2 separate regions of the Homo sapiens genome follow, and region 1 is linked to region 2. The links are contacts of gene promoters, found by promoter capture Hi-C in blood cells and fetal thymus (Javierre and others, 2016). All regions are on one chromosome and are shown on one strand. Each heading gives the region's core, a stretch centred on a gene start or on the middle of the fragment in contact. The rest is flanking DNA. Distances are from core to core; before and after follow the strand shown. Region 1 overlaps SORCS3 (sortilin related VPS10 domain containing receptor 3). Region 2 holds the start of SORCS3 (sortilin related VPS10 domain containing receptor 3).

Region 1 (7,087 bases), core at 78-2,577, 280 kb before region 2:
CACAGTCTCCGAGAGCCCTTTAAGCTCCAATATGCAGTGAGTCTAAGAATTAAATATGAATGGAAACGAGTTAAATGAGCATATTAGACCAAGGCACATGACCATCAGCAACAAATCTGAGCAAATGGCTAACATCTCAGTACCAAATATCCATCATCTGCAAATTGCATGATGATCGTGCCAACATCATAGAGTTTCTGTTGAAGTATTAAATGAGTTAATTCATTGGAAGCATTTAGGATAATTTTCAGCACATAGCAAACTCTCAAAAAACTCTAGCTCCTTCTTGTATTATTATTTTTACTATCATTGTCATTATTATCATAGACACTTGTTGCCTTTATGAATAGAAACAGATACTAGCACTAACAGAGACTTCTTTGCTCCTTAACAGACAGGTTATTATGCACATGTTACGAAGAGAAAAAGAAAGGCTCACAGAGGAGAGATGTCTGGTTGATGTGTCATTAAGTCAATGGCCATGAAGGAGGGAGTGTGGTACAGCAGAGCTAAGCTCCCACTCCCTATTGCAACACTTGGTGTCCTCTATTCTGGGTTACCAGAACAGGCAGCATCTCTAACTCCCTTGCCTGCAGGAGGAGGGCTAAGCGTCCCTGGGTAATGCGTGTGATGCTCCTATGAAGTTGCATTGGCTCATGCTGATAGAACCCCTTAATTGTGCCAGCAAGTAGTGCTGCTGCTCTGACTTCTACCAGCAGAGCCAGTGTGTTTCAGGGACCCACCTTTTGACCAAGGAACTGTAACTTCAGAAAAGATAGCCCAGGTAACAGGGCTTGGCCAGCCAACATGTAGTCATATAACTAAGAGCTATGAGGATTACACTTCCTAAGGGCTTGGCCAGCCAACATGTAGTCATATAACTAAGAGCTATGAGGATTACACTTCCTAAGGACTTCCCAACTGGCTATCCAATGAGCCACAGAAATTAAATGTGGATCATCACATGGTACTGCAAAGCCCTCTGAAAAACACTGTCTAAATGGTGGCCATCCAGACGACCTGAGCTGGAAGGGGCTTCGAAAAGCATAGAACATAAACTTGCCATTATACAAATAGAGAAATGAAAGCCCTGGGAGGGAAGTGGCCTATATAAAGACACTGAGTTGCTCAGGGGCAAAACCAGAAGCAGAAAGCAGACATCTGCCCCCTACCCCTACTCTAGTGGTCTTACCCTACAATGACACAAAAAGTCCCTTTGCACTGAAGGATCAACCATGTGCTTCCTCTGAGTCAAAGGGAAATCTTTGTAAGCCACACTTGACTTAGTTTATCTCTCACACATATAAGGGTATCAGTGCAGGTCCCCAGCAAGAGAGTCTACGAAGTGTTCTCCTGTGACTCTAAAGACCACTTTGCAAATACCAACTTTTCACCTGTAGACTTAGTTACCACTTGAATATGCCACATGCTGCCAACTGGAAACAGGGATAACAGTAGATTTGGTACAGCCTGTTAGCCCCCAAACCCTGAACTCCACCTCCTAAATATTTCAAAACACGGATGTTTCATATTAAAATCTATATAGAAAAATATCTTTAAAACTCAGAACATAATAGCAAGGATGTTAACAATAACTGGCTATGCTGGGCCCTCATTTTCACATGACAACAGTCATTTGGAGCCTAATGGCAAAAGGCCCTTTACAGAGGGGCTTCCAAGTCTCTACCTGGCCCACATCTTCCTTGCCATTATCTTCTGGCCCCTGCATGCATCCGAATTTGAGACCTAGGTCTATGTAGCAGTCATTTTCTTCGGTGCATCTTGTCTGCCCAGGTGAATTGCACATTTCTGAAAGCAGGAAACTCCCTCCCTCAAAACATACTTTGCTCAGAGGTAGACATTTTTAAAAGATTGTTCAACAGCCTAAAATTACCTTTCCACCTTTTTGGCCTTACTTTAGTGTAAGAGACTTTAATATTTGTGGACTGAAAATGTGTTACCCTGCCACTTACTTTCCCTGACCCTGCAACTATCTTAGGAGTCTGGTATTTTAAAATTCTGTGCTATGTTTTGGTTAAAGGTTTTCCAGCATTTTAAAGATAGTTCAGGGTTATGTGTTGTATCCAGAGAGCGACATTGGCATAACCAGCCTCCGACCACACACGCGGTGCCTCTCGAACAGCTTGACAAAAGCAGCTTGCTCACTGTAAGAATCTCACTGGTAATTCCCACTATATTTCTGCAGGGTAGCCTGAAAGTAATTATCCTTCTCACTGGTAAATCAATTAGGAATGCAGGATGTAATATTCCCCTCCTCCTCCAAGAAACTGCTAATCCTCTAACACTAATGAACAGAAAACCCCAGGCAACAGGGTTACCACTAATAGAGTGATGATTACAACTCACCTGGTCTTTATACCTGTGGTAGTGGCACCAACCCTGTGGGCAGATAGAGGTGAACAGGAATCCTGGACCCCCTCTTATTAGCTATTTTCCAAAATTAAGTGTCTATCTGCTTGAGCCTCAGTTTCTTCGTCTGTCAAATGAGGATAAAACTACCACGCTCAGGAGATTAATAGTAAAACTTAGAATAAAGTGTAGTAAGGAACTTAGCCCAGTGCCTAGAACTTATTAGAAGCTCAATAGAAAGAACTCATTAGCCTATACTGATGTCAGACCTTATAGTTTTCATCACACACACACACACACACACACACACACACACAGAGAGAGAGAGAGAGAGACATGTACCTCTAACTATAGTAATTTGGTCACATTCTCTGGCTGTTAGACCAGTGTGTGCTCTCTGCCATTTCCAATGCACTGTCTCCAAAGTTGCAGGTGGCAGTCACTTTGGAGCCAGAGTAATTAGACAATAACATGCCTGCATTTCTCTGTCCACTCAAAGATTCATTCTCAAATAAGCTCGCCCATGGGAGTCAGGCTCCTCTCTAGTTAAGGCACAAAGCCTTCAGCCTGTTTTTACAAAGCACAGCAGACTTGACCTTGGCACTTGCCATTCTGCATGGGCCTGAGGACAAGAAACAACTGACAGTAATGAGTTCTGGGAACCCAGGGATGTTTATCTCATGCAAGGGGAAGGAGAAGCTGTGAGCTAGAGCTTACTAGCCCCACCATAATGGAGCCACTCCTCTGGGAGGCAAACCATACACTCTCTTGCTTCCAGAGCTAATATACTATTCCTCATCTTCAAGTACCAACCAGACACATTCAGCAATTCTGGGCTCCCATAAGGAAGTTGGGCTCAAACCTGGGCAATGAGTTAATTGGCCAATGGCTGGAGAAAGGCAAACAACCGGGTATACAAAATTCACATCAAATAGTCAGAGTGGGTCAAGGTCATTAAAATAATGCTGATGCCACCATGCCACAGAACAGCAGTCTAGGACAACTTTGACTGAAGCAGCTTCGTGCATTTCATATCAATACTCTCATTTAGACAGGGAATTATAAAACCCGCTAGATGAAATGATTATACCCTGCTCACAGCCTGTGATAAAGACAGTACTCCCAGTCTAAATCTCAGCTACCTCCAGGAAGCCCAGAATTGCTGAATGACTAATTTGTCCTCAAAATAAACCCATTGGGAAAGCTGCTGTAGATCTACCATTTATAGCAATATAGTCTTGGGGTAATTTATCAAAGTCTATTTTCTTACCCTGCCTACTTTCAAAGTGGCTGGGAGGATTAGAGATCATGTGGATAAAACTCTTAAAAGGGAGTTTAGGATAGTAGCTGCTCAGTTAGTGCTACCTGGGATGATTACTGGTAGAAGGAAACTATACACAGGTTAACACCTCTGCTTCCTTCCAACTTAATGGTTAATTAACTATCAGTATTTGGATAATTTTATGTTGTTCAAAATTGTTTAAAAAATCAACAATTAGCTTTGGGAGCAACTACATGAATACAAACTCAATTTACTGTTTTGCCAGGGGCAACAGATCTCATTTGATGTATTCATAGCCTCCAAGGAAAGCAGCAGCCATCTGTTAAATAAATAACTCATTAGGTGAAAAGCAAGTGCTTCTACAAGATGAACTCAAAAATCCACGAGAGACTACTGCCATTGGCTGACTGATGAAATGGGTTGCTACAGATAATTTGGGTACTAACCAAATCTAAACCATCTTGCCTAACACAAGCTGAGATGAGTATCCATATTACCATAAGTTTAAACTTGAAGACGTAAAGAAGGAAACTTAAAAACGAAGTTGTGTTACATGGTTCCAGAGCTCTAGACTAATAAAGGAACAAATAAGAGTATTTTTATTTATATCAAATTTTCTTTTTGCCTAAGTGGCTGGAGAAGGGGGATTTCTGCTAAGCTGAATATACTGGTTACGAGAAAGTTAGAATGTAGACTACGTGTGCACTGTCAACATCAAGAGGCTCAGATTACAATACATACCACTTAGTAAAATGAAAATGAATCCAATTTCATTTTTTCTTGGATGATGAGGAAAGCACTTTAGATCATGTAGGACCCTTATGAACATTAATTTCTTTTTTTTTTCTTCAGACGGAGTTTCACTCTTGTTGCCCAGGCTGGAGTGCAATGGTGTGACCTCTGCTCACCGCAACCTCCACCTCCTGGGTTCAAGCGATTCTCCTGCCTCAGCCTCCTGAGTAGCTGGGATTACGGCATGTACCACCACGCCTGGCTAATTTTGTATTTTTAGCAGAGACAGGGTTTCTCCATGTTGGTCAGGCTGGTCTCGAACTCCCGACCTCAGGTGATCTGCCCACCTCAGTCTCCCAAAGTGCTGGGATTACAGGCATGAGCCACTGTGCCTGGCTACAAACGTTAATTTCTATTGCTATTTTCTAAAAAAAAAAAATCCATGCCATTGGCCTGTTGCTTATTTTTCCCCAATCTGAGTGAAGAAAATGTCTGTATGTTTAACTTTCTGGGTGGCAGTGCCTCCCAGATGGGAGTTAACTACACTTTGGTGATGTTTCTCAGACCAGACAACAAAATAGGCCTAACTTCTGTTTATTGAGCACTAGTTTCTGTGAGAAATGGCTCCTGAGAGCCCACTGCCTGAATGTCACCATGAGGAAGGATAAATGGAGGTGGTATCCCCGTGCCAGTGAGAGCCAAATCTCAACTCTACGTTCCTTCCAACCCACAGAATCTGCCTTAATCCATCCCTTGTCTCTATCACTTCTAAGAACTTCTTAGTTGCACTAAGGAGAGTTCAGACTGTCAGGAGTAGAAAAAAACAGCAAAAGACAAAAAGAAACATCATTATGATATTTTCGAAGAGGAAACATACATGACAGATGAATTCCAAAACAGATACAAACAGGTACAAACCTTCACGAGCCACTTAGGAAAATCCTCACAAAAGTGGCCTATCAATCATCTACATGAAAATACGATTAATTCTGTTGTGGCCCAGATACAAGACAGAGATCAGCGCTGTAGGGCACTTTTCATGCACCAAATATCCAGTTCTTGCTTCGCCCAAAGTGCATATGCCCACTGAGATCCAGTATGCTCAAGGCACTTGTGTGGGATGGGAGGAGCACTAAATTAGGAGTCATCAGACCAACTGACAAGGCTGCTCCTAACCTGTTGAGTTGGCTGGGTGGGGCAGTTGTCCTCTGTGGGCCTCTGCTTCCTTCTCAAGAAGGGAGAAGGGCAGGAGAAGAACTGAAAACCATCACTGCTGGCTTGATTCAGTCAACTTTAATCATGTGCCCATCAAGGACATGGCACCAAGCTTTAATTCAAGATCATAAAGCAATTTTGAACCCCTACGCTATCACTGTACAAGAAGAAAAGCTGCAAAAGATGAGCTGATGCAAATACATCTGGCCTGACAATCAAGAGTCCTGGGTTCTAATCCTGGCTCCTTTTTCTATCTGGCTATGTGAGTTTTTTTTGCTTCAATTTTCTCATCTGTAAAATGTTGTTGGCATGGAAAAATGATTTCTAACCGAGACTCCATGGATATCTTGGGTTCATGAGTGGGATCTGAGGTGTCCACGAAGTCCTCAAAATGTATGAAAATTTTTGTGGCATAGGCATATTTCTAGAGAGGCCACCTAGAACTTTAATCACATGTGTAAAAGACTTGCAGTCCAAAAACTGTTAGGCACACTGTTGGTGGGAATGTAAATTAGTATGGCTATTATAGAAAACAGTATGGAGTTCCTCAAAAATTAAAAATAGAGCTACCATATGAACAAGCAATTCGACTACTGGGTATATATCCAAAGAAAATGAAACCAGTATGTCCAAGAGATTTCTGCACTCTCATGTTTATTGCAGCACTACTCACAACAGCCATGATATAAGATCAACCTAAGTGTCTATCAATGGATGAATGAAGAAAATGTGGTACGTAGACACAATAAAATACCATTCATCCATAAAAAAGGAAATCTTGTCTTTTGTGACAACATGGATGAACCTGAAGACATTATGCTAAGTTAAATAAGCCAGACACAGACAGACAAATACCATTTGATCTCACGCATATGTGGAATCTAAAAGAGTTAATCTCAGAATTAGATAATAGAATGGTGGTTAACAGGGGTCGAATGGTTAAAGGGGAGGCATGTTTGGGAGACATTGGTCAAAAAATACATAATTACAGTTATATAGGAGGAATAAGTTCAAGATATCTATTGTAGAGCATGATGACTATAGTTAATGGCAATATATTATTTTCTTGAAAAATGATAAGAGTAGATATTAAGTATTATCACCACAAAGTAACTGTGAGTTACTGCATTTGTTAATTAGCTAGATTTAACCATTCCACAATGCATATGTACTTCAAAACAGTATGTTGTACAATATAAACACATACAATGTTATATGTTAATTTTAAAATAAACAAATTAAAAGAAACTATTAATAACCACTTGTCTAGGTGAAATCTGTGCTTTCTTCTAGCTCTAAAATCCAATAATTTAAATAATGATACTGAAAGATGTGAAAATGGCAATGCTTTGGGACAAAGAAAAAAGAAACTACTCAAATAAAATCAATAACAGGTGCCTAAACAGCCAGCCTGATGATCAAAGCTTTGGCACTTGGCTAGTGGGCACAGTCTAGGGCCTGAGAGTCCCTAGAGCTAACTGGATCCTT
Region 2 (6,593 bases), core at 2,630-5,129:
CCACTCACTTTCCAGCCAGAGCACCTGGCAGGCAACATGGTCAAGAGGTGGTACCCAGATCCCATGCCCTCCTGATTCCTTTGCCCAAAGCCAGTTGCACTCCTTCTCCTTTGTCCCCAAAGCCATCTCTTCTCAGTCCTGGGACCAAGGCAAATACCCAGCCCAAGCCTTGGTCAAGGGTCTCCTCCTGCACCCTCAACCACCTGGGGCACACACTGGACCAATGGGGTGGGCTGAAGGCCCTTCTCCTTCATGTCCCACCCTGCATCCCTGACTGTAAACTCAGTCAGAATGGAGTTCAATTTTCAATTTCATAGGGTTACTGAAAACGCTCCCCAAAAGGGAACTCATATCAAGCAATCAGGTGCATCAGAGACACTTGGAAGAAGAGCAAGGAAACCCTCATTGTGTTAAAAATTAAACTGGTGGCCTCCTGAATAAGGACATGTCTAATACTCCAGAAGCCAGAATAAAAGATAAAATTCTCTTTCCACGTCATAAGAGCCTGGAGCTAGGCCCCATGTTCTCTGTTTTACGGACATCTCCCTCCACTTTGAAACCAATGATGAAGGAATCTTCCCAAAGTGTCCTCATCCCCATCACTCTTCACCCTGGCTTTTATTTACAACACCTTCTTTTCCTGCCATCAGGAAAGGGGGACAGGAGAAAAACCAGCTGGGTCAATGTTGCTGAAACTGGTTTCCCAGTGACTCTCCAGGAGATTTCCTTAAAGTCTCAAAGACAGGGCCATGTGAGTATGCTTCTCCATCTTCTTTACACAGGCTCACAGACCTGATAATCAAGGATCTCTCTCTCGTATTGCCTACAAAATGTGGTCAGAAGAGACAGGTCCAGCCTAGGGGCTAAAGAGGCAGTTATTCCCCAGATTGGAGAGAGAGGACAGTGCGTGGCCCTACATCCACCTGTGGTGCTCTTGCATGGGCAGTAAGGCTGGCCAAGAGCACAACCAATAAGTCCCTGTGGGCTGTTCATACATTGTCCAATCTCATTGCTGTCACCAAGGTCTCCAAGCCCAACTGCTCCAGTCCCCAAGCCCCTTTGGCCGTCATTTGACTGAAGAGTCATTTCCCCAGGGAGCACGGGCCAGACCTGCCCCTCACCTCTTCTGCTGCACAACTGCTTTGAAGATGAGCAAAGAAGGCCATGCACAGTTAACTGCTATTTGCAGGAAGCATTTTCTCTAAAGTCCCATCTTCAGAGGCTTTGTAAATACTCAAAAATAATCCTTAAAATAAAAGCAGAGACACAGAAAAACTCTTCAGGGAGGGTGAATTTATATTGTCCTAATGTGGCAGTAGGGAAGCCACAGATGTAAAGACATTGCATCCTCCTCTTCCTAGGATATATTTACTTCCACACATCCTATCCATCCATCCATCCTCCTCACCAAGTAAGAACCCCAACACACACACACACACACACACACACACACACACACCCTAATTATCAAACTAAAATGAAGTTGGGATTCACAACCCCTGCTGTCAGAGAATCAACCCTGAGGTCAGAGAATCTCCCCCCAGCACACACATATCCAAGTCCTCTTGGAAGGGACTTGGAAGTCTTCAATCACCCAGCCCTGCAAAGGCACACATTGTCCACCCCTCTCGCCAGAGCTGTCAGCCCGAGGCTACGGGGGTCTTCATCCCAGGCAGATGAAGCCCGCCATCGCGCTGCTGCGAAGCTGGACTTCACTGGTCCTTCAAGACCAGCATGGGCTACCCAGGCTGGGCTGCCCGCGCTGTGCATCATTAGAAACCAAGAAATCTGCACTTTGGTATTGCTTATGTACTACCTTCTGCGGACCCCTCGCTTTCCTCTTATTAGATACCCAATCCTGGACATCCCAGGCTCTGTTAAAATAAGGCAAAAATTTCCCAGAGAAATTTTGTCAAACACCGGTCATGAAGAGAAATACAAAACGGCAGGGAGTTGCGGGGTGAGTTCCTATCAAATCAGTTCCCCAAGGCTGCTTGTACAGACACCCGTCATCCTCCGCCTGGAGCGTGCACCCTACCCAACGCCAGGTTCTGATCTGAACCATGGAGCCAGAGAAGAGGAAAGGATTTTCCAAATCTGGCTCTAGTAGGGACCGCGGGAGGGAGGGAAGTCGGGGAGATGGTGGGAACCTGTCCCCCGCCTTTTCTTTGCTTGGCTGCACAGCGCTGGGTGCCGGCGAGGTAGGGGGAGCCCCTCCGGGCACGCGCTGCGGGCCGCTGCAGCTGCCAGGCAGGCGCGATGCTCAGTCGGGCGCCCAGTTCGGAATGCCGGAGTAGGCCAGACCGGGCTCAACGACGCCACCTCTCGGTACATCCTTGTCCAGGAGAACCCGGTGGCGGGGAAAAGCGGGTGGAGAGGTGTGCAGGAAGCTCAGGCACCCAACTCCGCTCAGGGAGCCGTTTGTGGCGCAGGACGCAATGGTGAAGTCGAGAGTTTTCTGCTGAGCGACTTCCGTGTGCCTGTGCGTGCGTGAGGGCGAGCGGTGTGGCATGAGCGCTGGATGGGTGTGGAATTTCGCTTCACGCTTTAAACTTTTTTTTACGGCCTCTGCTACGGCTTTCCAGGGCCGCTCCCTGGACTTTGAAGGAGGAACCGGGGTTACCTGAAGGCCAAGGCTGGGGGCCGACTTGGCCGAGCCTCCCTCTTGGGCTGGAGGACTGCGCGCCTGGAGCGGATAGCAGCGACCCCGAGGCGAGCAGGAGGCTGGGAGTCCGAATGGCCTTCCGGGTTCCCTTTCGCGTGACGGGAGGGGGGGTGGGGGTGGGGTGGGGGTAGGGGGAGCCCGGCAGCCGCAGGAATCGGTCTGTTCAGCGGCTCCCGCCCCAAGTCAGCCCTTTTTCTCATCCAAGAATTCAAGCACCCCGCAAACAGGAAAACTGACCCTCCAAGCCAAGTATTGGAGAAAGTGAGCACAGATCCCTCCCCCACTCATCTTTAAGAAGCCCCTTCCTCCACTCCCCTCCCGGCGGCCGAAGCCTAGGGTCTCCAGTAAACAAACACACACAGCGTCTAACAACAAACTCCGTTAACCTGTTGGGGGCGTGGGGGGAATCGGACAAACCTGTTATCTCGAAAAGTCGAGGCGTCCCCCGCCTCGACCCCCGAGCAACTATCTGTCCCTCGCTCCCACCCACCCCCCCATTCCCCTTCGGTGTCAGGAAACAGGCGGACCCGCCGCCGGGTGGGTACTCACGCTGCTGTTGTGTCCCGACCAGTGCACCATGGCTTGGTTGTGGGCCGAGTCCCCGGTCAGCGCGAAGGAGGTGCTGGGCAGCCGGAGGTCTTCAGCCGCCGACCCCCCAGCCCGCGGCGCCTTCACCTCCTCCCGGGAACCCTTAGCAAGGGGACGGCTTCCTCTGGAACCATCGGCCGGAGCAGTGGCCCAGGCGTCCCCGCGTTCCTGGGTGATTGGGGGCTGCGCCCGGCGACTCCTCCTCGCGCCGCCAAGCTTGGCAGGAGCTGGGATGCCCCGGCCCCGCCGCTCGCCTGCCGGTGATGTCCCTCCGGCTTCCACCTGCATCTCACCGCCTCTGCCGCCGCCCTGCTGGGGCAGCAGCTCTGGTCCGGCCCGGCGCCCCAGCACGGCGGCTCTCCGCGCCGACGCCAGCTCCTCCGGCCACTGGCTGGCCACTGCCCGCGGCGAGAGTGGAGACAACGCCGGTGGCCGCGAAGCCGGGGCCGCCGGGCGTCCGGGACCGCCTGTCGCGTCCCAAGTGATCTCGGCGCCGGCCAGGACCCACGTCGACAAGAGTAGGAGCCCCGTCCGGACAAGCGGCGCCCCCGGCCTGCCTGCGGGGCGCTCCGTGCGCGCCGCCTCCATCCCGCTGCGGCTACCGCGGCTCGGGCTGCCGAGTGTGTGGCGCCCGCCGAGGTGCGGGTCCGGCGCGGGGGGTGTGCGCGCGCCGGCGAGCGAGCGAGCGTGTGTGTGTAGGGGGAGTGGGGAGGGGGCGGCCGGGAAGGAGGTGGCTCCGGCTGGCGCGCCTCGCCGGTCCTCTCCACTCTTCCCTCCTAGCTCCCGCTCGCCCGTTCTCTTGTCCAGAGGGTGATTCCAAACCCGAGGAAAATTAATAATTGCCCCTTCGGTGCTTTCTTTCTTAAAATCAGATTCCCCCCAATCCTCCCCACTGAGCTCCTCCAGAAATTTGGTAAAAAGGAGTAATCAAAGGTAATAAGAAAATCTTCTTAAAATATGAAAATCAAGCCGGATCCAGGAGGGGCCGGCAATAGACCCCAATCCCGAGTCTCTCCGAAATCCAGCCTCCAACGTGCTCCCGGCGAAGAGTTGGGAGCCGCTTCTGGACGCGTTTGGGGGTTTACTCTTCGGGCCTGTTATGAGGGGCGGGAGATGGCGCGCGGGGAGGGTACAGGGGTCTCGGGGGAGAAGGAGGAGGAGTTGTGTGCTCAACGCCAACTGTTCGCGTTCTAGAGCCGAGAGGGAGCCAGGTGCCTCCGCGCGGGGAGGCTGCGCACGGAAGCCAAGCGCGGGATGCACCCTGGACTCTGCTCGCCGCTCCCTGGCCCGGCCGGCTCCCGGCCAAACCCCGCCACCCAAGGCCTGCGCCCCCGCGCGGGGGCGTGGGGAATGCGTGCGTGCGCGTGCGTGCGCGCAGGCAGGCGGGCGTGAGGCGAGGGGTTCGCAGGGGGCCGGCGGGCAGACCGGGCGCTGCCGCGTGGGGGCACCTGGCTGAGCCGGGCCGGGAGCGCGGCTGGGTGTGAGGGGGCGCGCGGTTCCGTGCGTGCGCGTTTGCACGAGCATGTGTGCACGTTAGTGTGAGCGATGGCAAGTGGGGCGGGGGCGGGAGGTGTGCGCTCGGCTTTTGGTCGCGTGCGGATCACGCACGGGCTGTGTTTGCATTTCCAGGAGCCTGCGAGTGGTCAAAGAGGCAATGCTGAGAACTAGGCAGGCCGCTCTCGGCAGCCCCCTCCTCTTGGCGCCCCGAGCACCCACGGCCCCCACTACAAGCGGTTAGAACCTGATAAAGCCTCCTAGGGGATGAGGGAAAAGAGGCGGAAGGCCCCGGTGGGATCGGGGACTTGCCAGATCTTCTCGGTTGAGGGATTCTCCTTGCCCCGACCTCCCGGCCAGAGGTGGGGCGAGAGAGTAGTCGAGATGTCTGTTCTTCCAGGGAGGATCCAGACCTCATTTTGCTGCCTAGGATTTTGAGGTCGTGCCCTCACTCTCCCCAGTCCGTTTCTGAACGGACTCAATTGTTTCAAAGTGTCGGCCGCCAGTTAAGAGGGTACTCAGGCGGGAGCCGCGTGGGCTTATCTGGTCCCCAATCCGCTACTGCAGGAGTGTAGCCTGCGCGCTTGGTGCAGCTGAGATCCTTCGTGACCGTAGGAAGAAGGAGACTTCAGGTGGGCTGAAGGGAAATGAGCTAAACCCACAGACGACCTCGAGCTGCGGTTTACAGGCCCCAGGACATGTGGTGTAGCTCGCCGCCTCCGAGAAGCCCCTGGGATTCTAGGGGTTGAAAAGTCTGAGACTAGAGGAGCTAGAGGAGGAGCTATTAAGAAAGGAGGAGGCAGGAGGGAGGAGGCTTAGGGAGAGAGAGACAGCCTCCAGCCCTGCTCCTCCCCTTCGGGAGTAGATAGAGTTCCTCCTCTCTAGAAGATGGTTAAAGTGGAGCGAGAGGGAGGGGAATGCGCGGAGAGGAAAGAAAGGTGAGAGGAAGGAATGAAGGAGAAAATAGAGGGAAAAGGGGAGAGAGGAAAGACAAGATGAAGGAGAAAAGGGGCGAGAGAATGGTGCAAAAGGAAGAGGGAGATAGAAGAGGAGGCGAAAGGGCGCCAGGTAAGAGCCAAGAGGGATGGAGGAGGCAGAAGAGGCGACTGAGAATCTAAGCTGGCCAAGGAAGAAGACATCCAGCGATTCCCGAGAGCCCCCGCCCTCTTGAACTTGCCTTTCCACCCGGTGCCAAAATGGCAATTAGCAGCGGGGGAGGCTGGGCCAAAGAACCAAGCCAGCGACAACGTCCGGCCCAGAATGGTGCGGGTCCTGGCATCTGTGGGTTTCCAAAGACAGGGAGTAGCGGGTATTCCTAAGAAAAGTTCCAGCGCCGCAGGCCCAGGTGGGCGCGGGATCGGGCGCTGGACGAGAGCCGGCCATCCGCGAGTTCCCAGCGCCCCTGCCGGAGGAGGCCCGGCGCTGCAGCCCGAGCCGAAGCTCGGGGTTCGGGAGGGACGCGGTGCTGCTCTTCTCTTCAGGCTCTGGGCGGAGGTGCCACAGTATAAGAGATCTGGGCGGACCCGAGGCTCACACAGCCCGGAGGAGTGTGGTCTCCCAAGTCCTATGCGCACTGGGGAGGTGCACCATCCAGTCCCCGCAGCTTCCCGCGGCCTCTGAGCAGGAGCAGTCGGGTGCAAAAGAGGCAGACGCTCTGAGAGGGGCCTCCTTCTGTCTCTCCTGTCTGAAGAAGGCCCTACCAGATGGAACCCGGGCAGAGTTGGATCCTTGGGATGGGCTTGAGGAGATGTAGCTTAAAAGCTTTTGTTTGAAAACAAACAAAAAAGGAAAGACTCCCGCAAGTGTGACATTTTCACATGCCTCCTGCACCAGTTCGTTTTCTTGG

What was found. Contacts are between HindIII fragments. The CHiCAGO score rates a contact against its expected background, and 5 or more counts as called.
Region 1: a contact is called between a fragment that was not itself captured here and the fragment with the promoter of SORCS3 in region 2, in 1 of 17 cell types (M2 macrophages). The highest score is 5.7, in M2 macrophages.

What each region holds. Positions count from the first base shown.
Region 1 is chr10:104,917,104-104,924,190 of GRCh38, reverse strand. The region is part of intron 3 of SORCS3 (sortilin related VPS10 domain containing receptor 3); the gene reads right to left. Among named protein-coding and RNA genes, the nearest start is that of SORCS3-AS1, 250 kb to the right of the region's middle. The HindIII fragment of the contact is 8,773 bases long and covers 1-5,713 here.
Region 2 is chr10:104,638,576-104,645,168 of GRCh38, reverse strand. SORCS3 (sortilin related VPS10 domain containing receptor 3) reads right to left here and starts at 3,879. Exons shown (of 27, transcript NM_014978.3): 1 at 3,215-3,879. The coding sequence starts at 3,841. The HindIII fragment of the contact is 3,039 bases long and covers 3,472-6,510 here.